Linked DNA regions of Homo sapiens: all the other regions are linked to region 3. The links are contacts of gene promoters, found by promoter capture Hi-C in blood cells and fetal thymus (Javierre and others, 2016). All regions are on one chromosome and are shown on one strand. The core of a region is centred on a gene start or on the middle of the fragment in contact, and the rest is flanking DNA. Distances in the headings are between cores, read along the strand shown. Region 1 has its middle 120 kb from the start of LINC02483. Region 2 has its middle 79 kb from the start of RCHY1. Region 3 holds the start of PARM1 (prostate androgen-regulated mucin-like protein 1).

Region 1 (3,250 bases), core at 751-3,250, 300 kb before region 3:
AGTGGTGGGCTGACTCTTGATCACAGATACTCACATTTCCTATTAGAGATGGGAAAGGATCAGACAAACATGGTCAAGGGGACAGTTTGGGAAAGTTAACAAACCCCAGAGGACGTTTAACTTCAAATAGCACAGTGCACTTAAAAATACATGTGTGCATTATTTATACATAAGTTCATTTAACACTTTCCCAGGGTTCTTTCCTTTAGGTATGTGTGTGAATGTGTGGAGAATGAGAAACCAGACACTACTGGGTAGGGTTTCATATTGTTGTTGTTGTTATTTTGTAGCTTTAAAAGAATATCTAACTTTGGCATTGCAAATTGATTTGTCAACCTTGCTTTACTATCCAAATTGAAAAACAGAGAGGAAAGGAGAATGACCCCAAAAAAGAGTGCTCTTATGGCATTTCCTGATTTCAGCAGTACAGAAACAGTTTAGTGCATCAAGATTCTCAGAGTAAATTTTATCTGTTCCCATCACTCTGCATATGTAATTAATGACTGCAAAACCTTTTGAACAAAAAAGAAGCAATACCTATTAATGTTAATTAAACAATGTATAGATTTGAAATGTTATCTTTCAAAGCTTTCAATCCAATGCTAAATGATGCCAAGGGTCTTCCAAAGCAATTAGGGGAAAGAAACAGATCAAGTTAACCTTCATCATCTTCACTAATTAATATTTATTGGGTGCCCAGACATCTTGCTTGGCTTTGAAATAGAAAATGAATCTGGAATTTTATGATAGTTGATGAAATACTTATGAGTTCAGTGACAAGGTAGAAAAGGGAATAAATGTACTGCTTGAGCATGCTATGAATTATTTGAAGATTTTTGGAATTTAGTGAGCTGATCTCATTAGCAGGGTACTGAGAATCCCTAATGGGTTATGTTTCTGAAATATCAATTTATTTCTTTATGAAGAAATTACAGTTGAACTGTGGCAAGATTTTTGGCAAGTATTTGAATGTTAGCAGCTACCCTTCTCTCCAGTTCTCTATAATTCAATTCAATTCAACTCAATTCAATTTACCTTTACTATACACATGTACCAAGATCTGGTGCTAGACTTTTGTAGGGGAGCTATGAAATAGTAAAATAAGGTCATCTTCTCAAAAAAAAAAAAAAAAATCTGGTGGTTGAGATATTTGGGTCCTAGTCTATTTCTATCATTTCCTAGCTGTGTAAGGTTGGGCAAGTTACTAAACTTTCCAAAGCTTCAATTTTCCTACTGAAAAATGAATTTAATACTGGAGTAGTATCTATTTCATTGGATTATTGGGAAGATTACATAAGATGCTGCACGTGGTTGGCATATGGATTTTTTTGATAAAAGCTATTATTAATAGTAACAATAGATATTTCACAACCTTCTGAGGAGATGAACAATCACTCATTCAACACACATGCCATGCCTACTCTGTATCAGGCCCTAAGTTTAGAGAGAGAAGATGCACTTATGTCCTCTTGGCTCTCAAGAGGTTTGGAGTCTAGAGGGAAGACAGTTATGCAGCCAACCACAGCTGAAAAGGAAGCATGTACAAGTGATATAGGAGCTTGGGGCAAAGGCAGTACATCAGTTGGGATGCTTTGGCTAAAACCCCAACTCAGATTGTCTTAAACAATTAGAAACTTTATTATTATTATTATTTTAGAGACAGGATCTCACTCTGTCAGCCACTAGTTTGCAGTGGCATGATCATAGCTCACTGTAACCTCAAACCCCTGGGCTCAAGCGATCCTCTGGTCACAACTTCTGAGTAGCTAGGACTACAGGTGCATGCCACCACACCCAGCTAATTTATTTTATTACAGGTGTGAGCCACTGTGCCCAGCCAGAAACTTTAGTATTGCACATAACAGAGAACTGAGAGTTTCTGCTGCTCAGTGATGCCATCAATGATTTGGTGTCTTTCTATCTGCCTGAGAGATAGAAAGCAAGGCGAGTCACATCTTGAATAACTCATAACTTGATTTGAAGTTGTGTGTAGGTCACAACTTAAGTTCCAGTTCACTCTTTGAGAATGTTTCCAGGTTGTAACACTAGGAAGATGTCAGATTGAGGAGAAAATATTTTTATGTTTCAGTACAGTTAGGGCTTTCTGAACAAATTTTACTGACACTTGGAATCTGACCTGAGAGCAAGTTTTAGAAGTTAATTTACAACTGTATAGATAGTGAGAACTCCAGAGAGATTTAACTAACCACAAAGATTTGTGTGTACATTTCAAGAGAGGATGAAGCCTGGGACTTGGAGACGTCTCTGAGTTGTAAAACTGGAGACACTGGGATTATCTTTTCTCTGGAGAGTTATTTACATTCCAAAAGGTTAGAGTAAGATATTTCCAAGGACACTTTCAGAAGTGGAAAAGGAGACATCTGCTTCTTTTTCTTGAATAAAACAAAGAAAATTTATTTTTGTGTCTCTCACTTATGGGGTGATCTGTCACTCATTCAAGAAAATTTTTCATATCTGGCTCTCATTGTGTCAATGTAGACATGGAGGAACAATGCTGCAATGTTAATCTGAGTATTGATCATGCTGTGAGTGTCACAAGATGTCTGTCTCTGATCCAAAACCTCAGTGTGGATTAAGAAAAAATTAGTAAAGATAAATATTAGAAATGCAGCAGAGGGGAACCTAGCCAGAGTTTGGCAGACTCCCTAAGTCAAGGAAACAGAGAGTCTGGGGAGACCAAGGTGGTTAGCATTTGTAAGACAAAGTGAAAAAGAAAAGATGGCTGCACAGAGGTAGAACCCTGGAGATTTGCAAAGCTTCTCTTTGAGTAATCAGCAGATTACTGATCAATGTTTTTTGTGTGTGAGGAAACTACTCAAGAGCAAGAAAATAACAATCCAAAATGATTAGAAAATATTGCCTGGCATGCACACATGTTCAAGAATATTGCTTATTCCCAAAACCCAGAATTAAAAAATCCGTAATTTATGAAGCATTGGGGTGAATACTCAAGAAGATTGTTCTTCAGTAGTGAGGAATAATTTGGCCCAGACGGGAGTGCCATTTGAGGCCGGCCTAGCAAATCATACAAGCAAGACCTAATCAAACTGTTTCCAGGTAACTACATTGTATCCCAAAACATAGCTCATGAATATTTATAGAAATATAAAAATACTTGCATCTAGCAAGTAAAATCACAATGTCTATCATTAAAACAAAGATTACCAGGCTTGTGAAAACAAACAAACAAAAAAACATGACCGATAATGCAGAAAATAATCAAAACCAA
Region 2 (3,255 bases), core at 130-2,629, 500 kb before region 3:
GGTTTATTCATTTAATATAATCCCAAACTTCCTGGAGTCATTGTTCATTTTTAAAATTCTTTTTTTCTGTGTCTTTGTCAGATTGGGTTAATTCTAAAGCCCTGTCTTTGAGATCTGAAGTTCTTGCTTTTACTTGTTTGGTTCTATTGCTGAGACTTTCCAGTGCATTTTGCAATTCTCTAAGTGTGTCCTTCATTTCCAGAAGTTGTGATTGTGTTTTATTTAGGCTGTCTATTTCACTGGAGATTTTTCCATTCATATCCTTTATTGTTTTTTTGATTTCATTAAGTTGGACTTCATCTTTCTCTGGTGCCTCCTTGATTAGCTTAATAATTGACCTTCTGAATTCTTTTTTCTGGCAATCCAGATATTTCATCTTGGTTTGGATCCAATGCTGGTGAGCTAGTGTGATCTTTTGGAAGTGTTAAAAAAACCTCGTTTTGTCATATTACCAGAATTGTTTTTCTGGTTCTTTCTCATTTGGGTGGACGTCAGAGGGAAGACCTGGGATTTGGCTGCTGTTCATATTTTTTGGTCCCATGGGGTGCTCCCTTTATGTGGTGCTCTCCCTTCCATCTGGGGATGAGGCTTCCTGAGACCTGAACTGCAGAGATTTTTATTTCTCTTCTGGGTTTATCCACCCAGTTGAGCTACTGGGCTCCAGGCTGGTATTGGGAAGTGTCTGCACAGAGTCGTGTGATGTGACCCATTTGTAGGTCTCTCAGCCATGGATACCAGCACCTATTCTGGTGGAGGTACCAGGGGAGTGAAGTGGACTCTGTGAGGGTCCTTGGTTGTAGTTTTTGTTAGTGTACTGGTCTTGTTCTGGTTGGCCTCCAGCCAGGAGGTGGTGCTTTCAAGACAGCATCAGTTGCAGTAGTATAGAGAGGATACAAGCTTACCCTAGGGTCACCTAGATAAGTATTCGGGTTTCTCAGATGGTGGGTGGGGCCCTAGAGCTCCCAAGAGCTTATGTCCTTTGCCTTTTGCTACCAGTGTGGGTAGAGAAAGACCATCAGATGGGGGCAAGTTTAGGTGTGTCTGAGTTCAGACTCTCTTTGGGTAGGGCTTGCTGTGGCTGCTGGTGGGGATCGGGGTGTGGTTCACAGGCCAATGCAGTTACGTTCCTAGGGGGATTATGGGTGCCTCTGCTGTGTCATATGGGTCATCAGGGAAGTGGGGGAAAGCCAGCAGTTACAGGCCTCACCCAGCTTTCTTGCCACCCGAAAGGCAAGTCTTACTCCCACCATGCACCCCCAACAGCACCGAGCTTATTTTGAGGCAGCTGGGGAGCAAGGCTGAGAACCTGCCCCAGGCTACAAGCCTCCCTGCTGGGAAAGCAAGCAGGGCTTTCAGGTTTCATGCCTCCCTGCCTGCTGCAGCTTCTGTGCTTCTATCTGTGCTCCCTGTTTGACCCTTTCCCCAAGTTCTGTCCAGGAAACCTCACTTTCAGTTGAAATTGTTACAAAATTAAGCTGGAAGTTTCCTTCTTCCTGTGATCTTTCCTCAATTCCATTGGGAGCCCTCCCCAAACCCCTCTGCGAGATGAAATCAGAAATGTCTTCTCTGGGGACCAAGAGGGCTCTTTCCGCTGCTTCCTGTATCCCCATATTTTGTTTGACTCTCTAAATTCATTTCAGTTCCAGGTAAGGTCAAATCCTTCATCCATGATCTGAACCTTCAGGGTCCCCAGTAAAGATGTGTCTTCGAGGGTGGATTTTTCCTCTTTTCATACTTTGGGAACTCACAGTTTTTCAGCTGTCTCAGAGCCTGCAGCAGCAAGCTGCTTCCTTCGAAGGGTCTGTGGATTCGCTTGGCTTGCCTAATGTGTTTCTGCAGTAGTTCTTGGAGCAAAGCTTCATGATGTGAGTGTCCACATACTGCTCTGTCCATTCAAGTGAGAGCTGCAAGTTAGTACTGGCTCCTATCTGCCATTTTTCTAATTTTCTCCATGAGTGGCATTCTTGACTCGCTCCTGAGATCTTCAGTGAAAGCATTTAGTCTGTCAACTTTTAAGTATAAGGTTCGTGTAGGGTCCTTTGCAGGTAGATGCTCTTTATCAAGTTAAGGGGAATTTCCCCTCTATTTTTTGGGGAGTTTTAAAAAATCATGAATAGTTGTTTAATTTCATCAAATTTTTATGCATGAATTGATATAATGATGTGATTTTTCTTCTTTAGCTTATTAATATATTGGATTACATCACTTGAGTTTTAAATATTGGATCAGTCTTGTATATCTAAAAGAAAATCCACTTAGCATAGCTTTGGTTATTTTTATGTGTGCTGAATTCAATTTGCTAATATTTTGTTATTATTGTGTTTGTATTCATGAGGAATATTGATGTCTAGGTTTTCTTTGTGCTGTCTTTGTCTGGTTTTGGTATCAGGGTAGTATATGCTTCCTAAAATGAATTGAGAAGTTATAATCCTCTTCTATATACTGCAAGAGATTGTGTACCATTGGTGTTAATTTTGCTTTAAACATTTGTTAAAATTCTCCAGTGAAACCATCTGGGCCTGGAGTAAAGGTGTTTGGCATTGTTACTGTGGTCACTGATGAGGAGGTAGAGGGAGGATTCACAGCCAAGTTGCCATGATCTTGTCGTTATGGAGACAGACATGCTGGGCTTCATCACAAGGCTGTTTTTCTCCAGGTATGATGTTGCTGTGGAAACACAAAGCCCAAATCCTCAAAGAACACTCTGTTCTAGTCCCAGCTGCTGTATCCATCTGCGTTGTATCTCATTAGCAGAAGAGCCTAGTGAGATAGGAGTTGCATCTCTGCTCATCCAGATCTCTAGAGAAGGGATCTACCCCTGGACTTTTTCCTGGGTAAGTGGGAATCTTTGGCTATTTTAAGGTAAACTTTGCTAAATTGGATGGAAACAAAATCTTCCTGTGCTGTGTCGTTTTTCAAAATGACTGCTGGGAATTTACACTTAATGGGTGTTCATTTCACTCTAAGTTGATCCACCTTAGAATCAACCTTTCAGCCTTATTTTCAGCACATAGATTCTTTCAACACCAGCCTCTCTGTTCCCAGAAATGGGAATGATCATATTACCTCACGACTAATGTCTTCTGTGGTCAAGGAAGCAAGATTTTCAATAGGGTATACGTGGGCTGTGGCATCCCTCCACAGTAGTGGCACTGACGCTGGAGTCTGAGCCCAGGTATTGACGTGGCCCAAGGCTAGCTCCCCAATGGATCACAGAGTTTCTCAATAGTACTATAATGTGGTAGATACAATCTC
Region 3 (3,194 bases), core at 459-2,958:
TTCTGAACCTCAAGAAAAGATTTTTGAGTGAGGAGAAGTAAAGGTACCTTCCGTGTCATTACGTAAGCATCTCCTGCTTTGAGGATTACAGGAATTACCACCCGCAGCCAGCCGGGAGCTCCGCTGCCTATTGCACCTGCCGGACCTAGGCTCTCTCATCTCAGCCCGAGGCTGGGCAGCCAAAGCCGCCTGCGAGTATTCGGGAACTGTCCGCGGACGCGTCTCCAAACCGTGCCGAGATACCAGCGAGAAAGAGGTTTTCTCAGACGGACGTTCACTAAGTAGAGAAAATACGCTATAGTTTCAAGTTGGGAAACTTTTCCTTATAACTGCATTACCCACTGTGAGCTGCCTGAAAACCGCTAGCTTCTTTTCAAGGGATTGCGACGACTCGTGTCCACAACTGTAGGAACCCGACGAACTCAGAGGGAGGATATACAGACTAAAGCACGAGTAGAATCGGTTTGCGCTATGTGACTTTGGGTCACATTTAAACTGAAAATGCCAGTGGCCGCGCAGTCGGGCTACTTTTCCCAGCAGCACCATATCCACAGCCAGTTGTCCCTTTTCGGGAGACGTTTTCTGGAAAAAATAGGTACCTGAACTCTAGATTCAAAGCGTCTTTCTGAATCTCTCCCCGGTCCCCGCCAAGCCGAGCTCAGTCATCTGGCTCCCCTCTTCCCCATCCCCGCTGCCAGAGGTCGTCGCCGTCTGTGGTCCCGAAACCCGAGAGTGGCTCCTACGAAGCCTTTCAGAGGTGGTGCAGGGGGAGGGGAGAGGATGCTAGTTTAGCCAAGTTAATAGTTTCTTCTATGGGATACGTTTTTGGGGAGTTCTGGGGCAGAAGGTAGCCTTGCTACCCCCAGTGACGATTGCGAGCCTGACCAAGGCCGGGCCGCTGCTGTTAGTGCCACATCATCCTAAGCATAACTAGGAAGGGACGCCGGAGATCAGAGACCGCCAAGACTCGAGAAAGCAAACCAGCCCCGCCAGGCGCGCAGCCGCTGCTGAAGCCTTCCCAGATGCGAACCTCCCACCCCCACTTCCCCGGCTTTTTCATCCCTTCCAGGGCCCAACGGCAACAAGAAGTCTGGTCCCGTACTTTGGCAGAGTGCGCTCCGAAACCCTGGTGAAGAAAGAGAAGCCTTGAGGCGCAGTCCGTGTTGCCCACTCTGGGTTCGAACACGCAGCTAAGACAGCCACCTGTTCTACAAAGCTGGAGTTTGTGCGGGCGCGGGCTGCGGCAGGAAGGACCCCATCGTCCCCTCCCTCAGTACGGTTCGGGACCGCCAAAGGTGCACGTCACCCCAAATCTAAGTGCGCACACACCTGCGCACTCACCCGGAGGCGCGCGGCGACTCACTGCCGGATCTCCTAGCTTCAGCCCCGACCACGCGCTAGCTACTGGGGCCCACCCCGCGACCTGCCCTTCCGGGAGGATGGCGCCAATTACCTGCAGTTAAGATGCAAAGAGCGAAGAGAGTCTTGTAGACCATGGTAGCCTGGTATTTGGTGCCCAGCCCGGGGCGGGCGGCAAGGAGTTTGCGGACTGACAGAGCGCACTGGGCGCTGGTAGCGACTCCTCTGCCGGGTGGGCTGCGGTGGGAGCCGGGAGGCGCGAACAGCTCCAGTGGAGGGCGCGAGGCAAACGAGGCGAACGCAGCGCAGCTCCGTCAGCTGCGTGCCCTCCGGTGCTCCGCGCTCTTCTGCTCCATCCCAGCCGCCCGAGCCCGGGGCCGCCTCCGCCTCCGCCGCCGCCGCCGCGCCTGCCGCTGCCAAACCCCTCCCACCCGGGCCCCGCGGCGATGACTGGGCCACCCCCTGGCCTTCCTTCTCTCAGCCCTCAGGTCCCGAGAGCCCCGGCCCAGAGCGGCCTCTGCTGGACAGTCAAGACACGAGACCCTGGGTTCAGCAAATGTTTGCAGCGCCTTGCACTGTGCTGGGAACTAGGGATGCAAAGAAATGTGAGCACATCTCTGCCCTTAGGAATCTAGCTCAGCTTTTCCTACATGAGCTTACAGCCTTTAAAAAGGTGACCTTATGCCATTTTAGGAGTTCCCTCGGAGAACCGGCACATGTTCCAAGAATGAGGACCTTCTTCATTTGTCAAAACACTTCTGCGTGTACATCATTAAACCCTCATCCACATTAAACCCGGCTGAGCTTCCTGGGGCCCGAACCAGGATGTCTGCCGCTGCATTCAGCTTCTTACTAGAAGAAAATACTGTCGGGGGGATAACTAAGCCAGACACCCTACTAGGCGTTGTTTCATGAATCCTTCTAAGAATTATTATTATTCCATTTTACAGGTGAGAAAATGAAGGCACAGAGAAGACAATGTTCTCAAGGTCGCATAACTGGTAAGAATAGTTTGTGCACTAGGCCCATAATAAAGGCTGACGTTTCCTGAGTGATTGCTATGTGCTAGGCACTGGACAACGTGCTGTTCAGGAATCAACCAAGTCATTTAGTTCTCACAACAATCCTTGGAGATTATATCCTCGTTTTCAGGGGAGAAAGTAGAAGCACAGAGAAGTTTAACTTGCCCGAGTTCACACAACTCGCAAGTAATGATAAGATGCCTGCCCAGGCACCCCGCTCAGCCTCTGTACTCTACTCCCTCTCAAGAGCCCAAAGCTTCTCCAAAGCCTACAGATTAGAACTGACCTTTCATTCAGTTCCCTCCCTGCTCTTGCTACACTTTAGGCTTGCTTAATTCTCACACTTCGATCAAAGCAGATGCCAGGTTCTCTCCCAATTCTGTTATTAATGAACCTATTGGTCCCCTAGTCACTAGAGCTGGGGCACTGCAGGAGTTAACAAGCCTTTGTAAAGAAATGATTTGCGTGGAAGGCAGCTTTCTTTTTTCTGTAATATCTTCTTCATATGCCATGGGCTCTGTTCTCACTTCTTTCTCACATACCAGAAGCTGACTCTAGGAGTCCTGAGCACCTTATCTATGGTCAATTCCTCTGCCTGACTCTATCACACTACCACTTGTAGATTTTGCTCACACTTCCACAACCAGATTAAATTTGGATCATATTTTTTTCTCTTTGTTTTGGTAAATCTAGTAATTTCTGTTGGAATGAGAAACAAAAAATACTCAGACCAAGTGCCCATCCCCTCTCCATCCTCCCTGGCCAGATAAACTGCAAATTCAATTTGTTCAGCATGTTCTCTGAATGCTTTTG

What was found. Contacts are between HindIII fragments. The CHiCAGO score rates a contact against its expected background, and 5 or more counts as called.
Region 1: a fragment that was not itself captured here is called in contact with the fragment with the promoter of PARM1 in region 3 in 2 of 17 cell types (total B cells and naive B cells); the score reaches 5.5 in total B cells.
Region 2: a fragment that was not itself captured here is called in contact with the fragment with the promoter of PARM1 in region 3 in 1 of 17 cell types (M0 macrophages); the score reaches 6.0 in M0 macrophages.

What each region holds. Positions count from the first base shown.
Region 1 is chr4:75,228,974-75,232,223 of GRCh38, reverse strand. No RefSeq gene overlaps it. Among named protein-coding and RNA genes, the nearest start is that of LINC02483, 120 kb to the left of the region's middle. The HindIII fragment of the contact is 1,558 bases long and covers 1,222-2,779 here.
Region 2 is chr4:75,433,697-75,436,951 of GRCh38, reverse strand. No RefSeq gene overlaps it. Among named protein-coding and RNA genes, the nearest start is that of RCHY1, 79 kb to the left of the region's middle. The HindIII fragment of the contact is 959 bases long and covers 900-1,858 here.
Region 3 is chr4:74,931,630-74,934,823 of GRCh38, reverse strand. PARM1 (prostate androgen-regulated mucin-like protein 1) reads right to left here and starts at 1,708. Exons shown (of 4, transcript NM_015393.4): 1 at 1,454-1,708. The coding sequence starts at 1,496. RefSeq lists an enhancer at 775-824 and silencers at 935-984, 1,565-1,874. The HindIII fragment of the contact is 7,366 bases long and covers 1-2,639 here.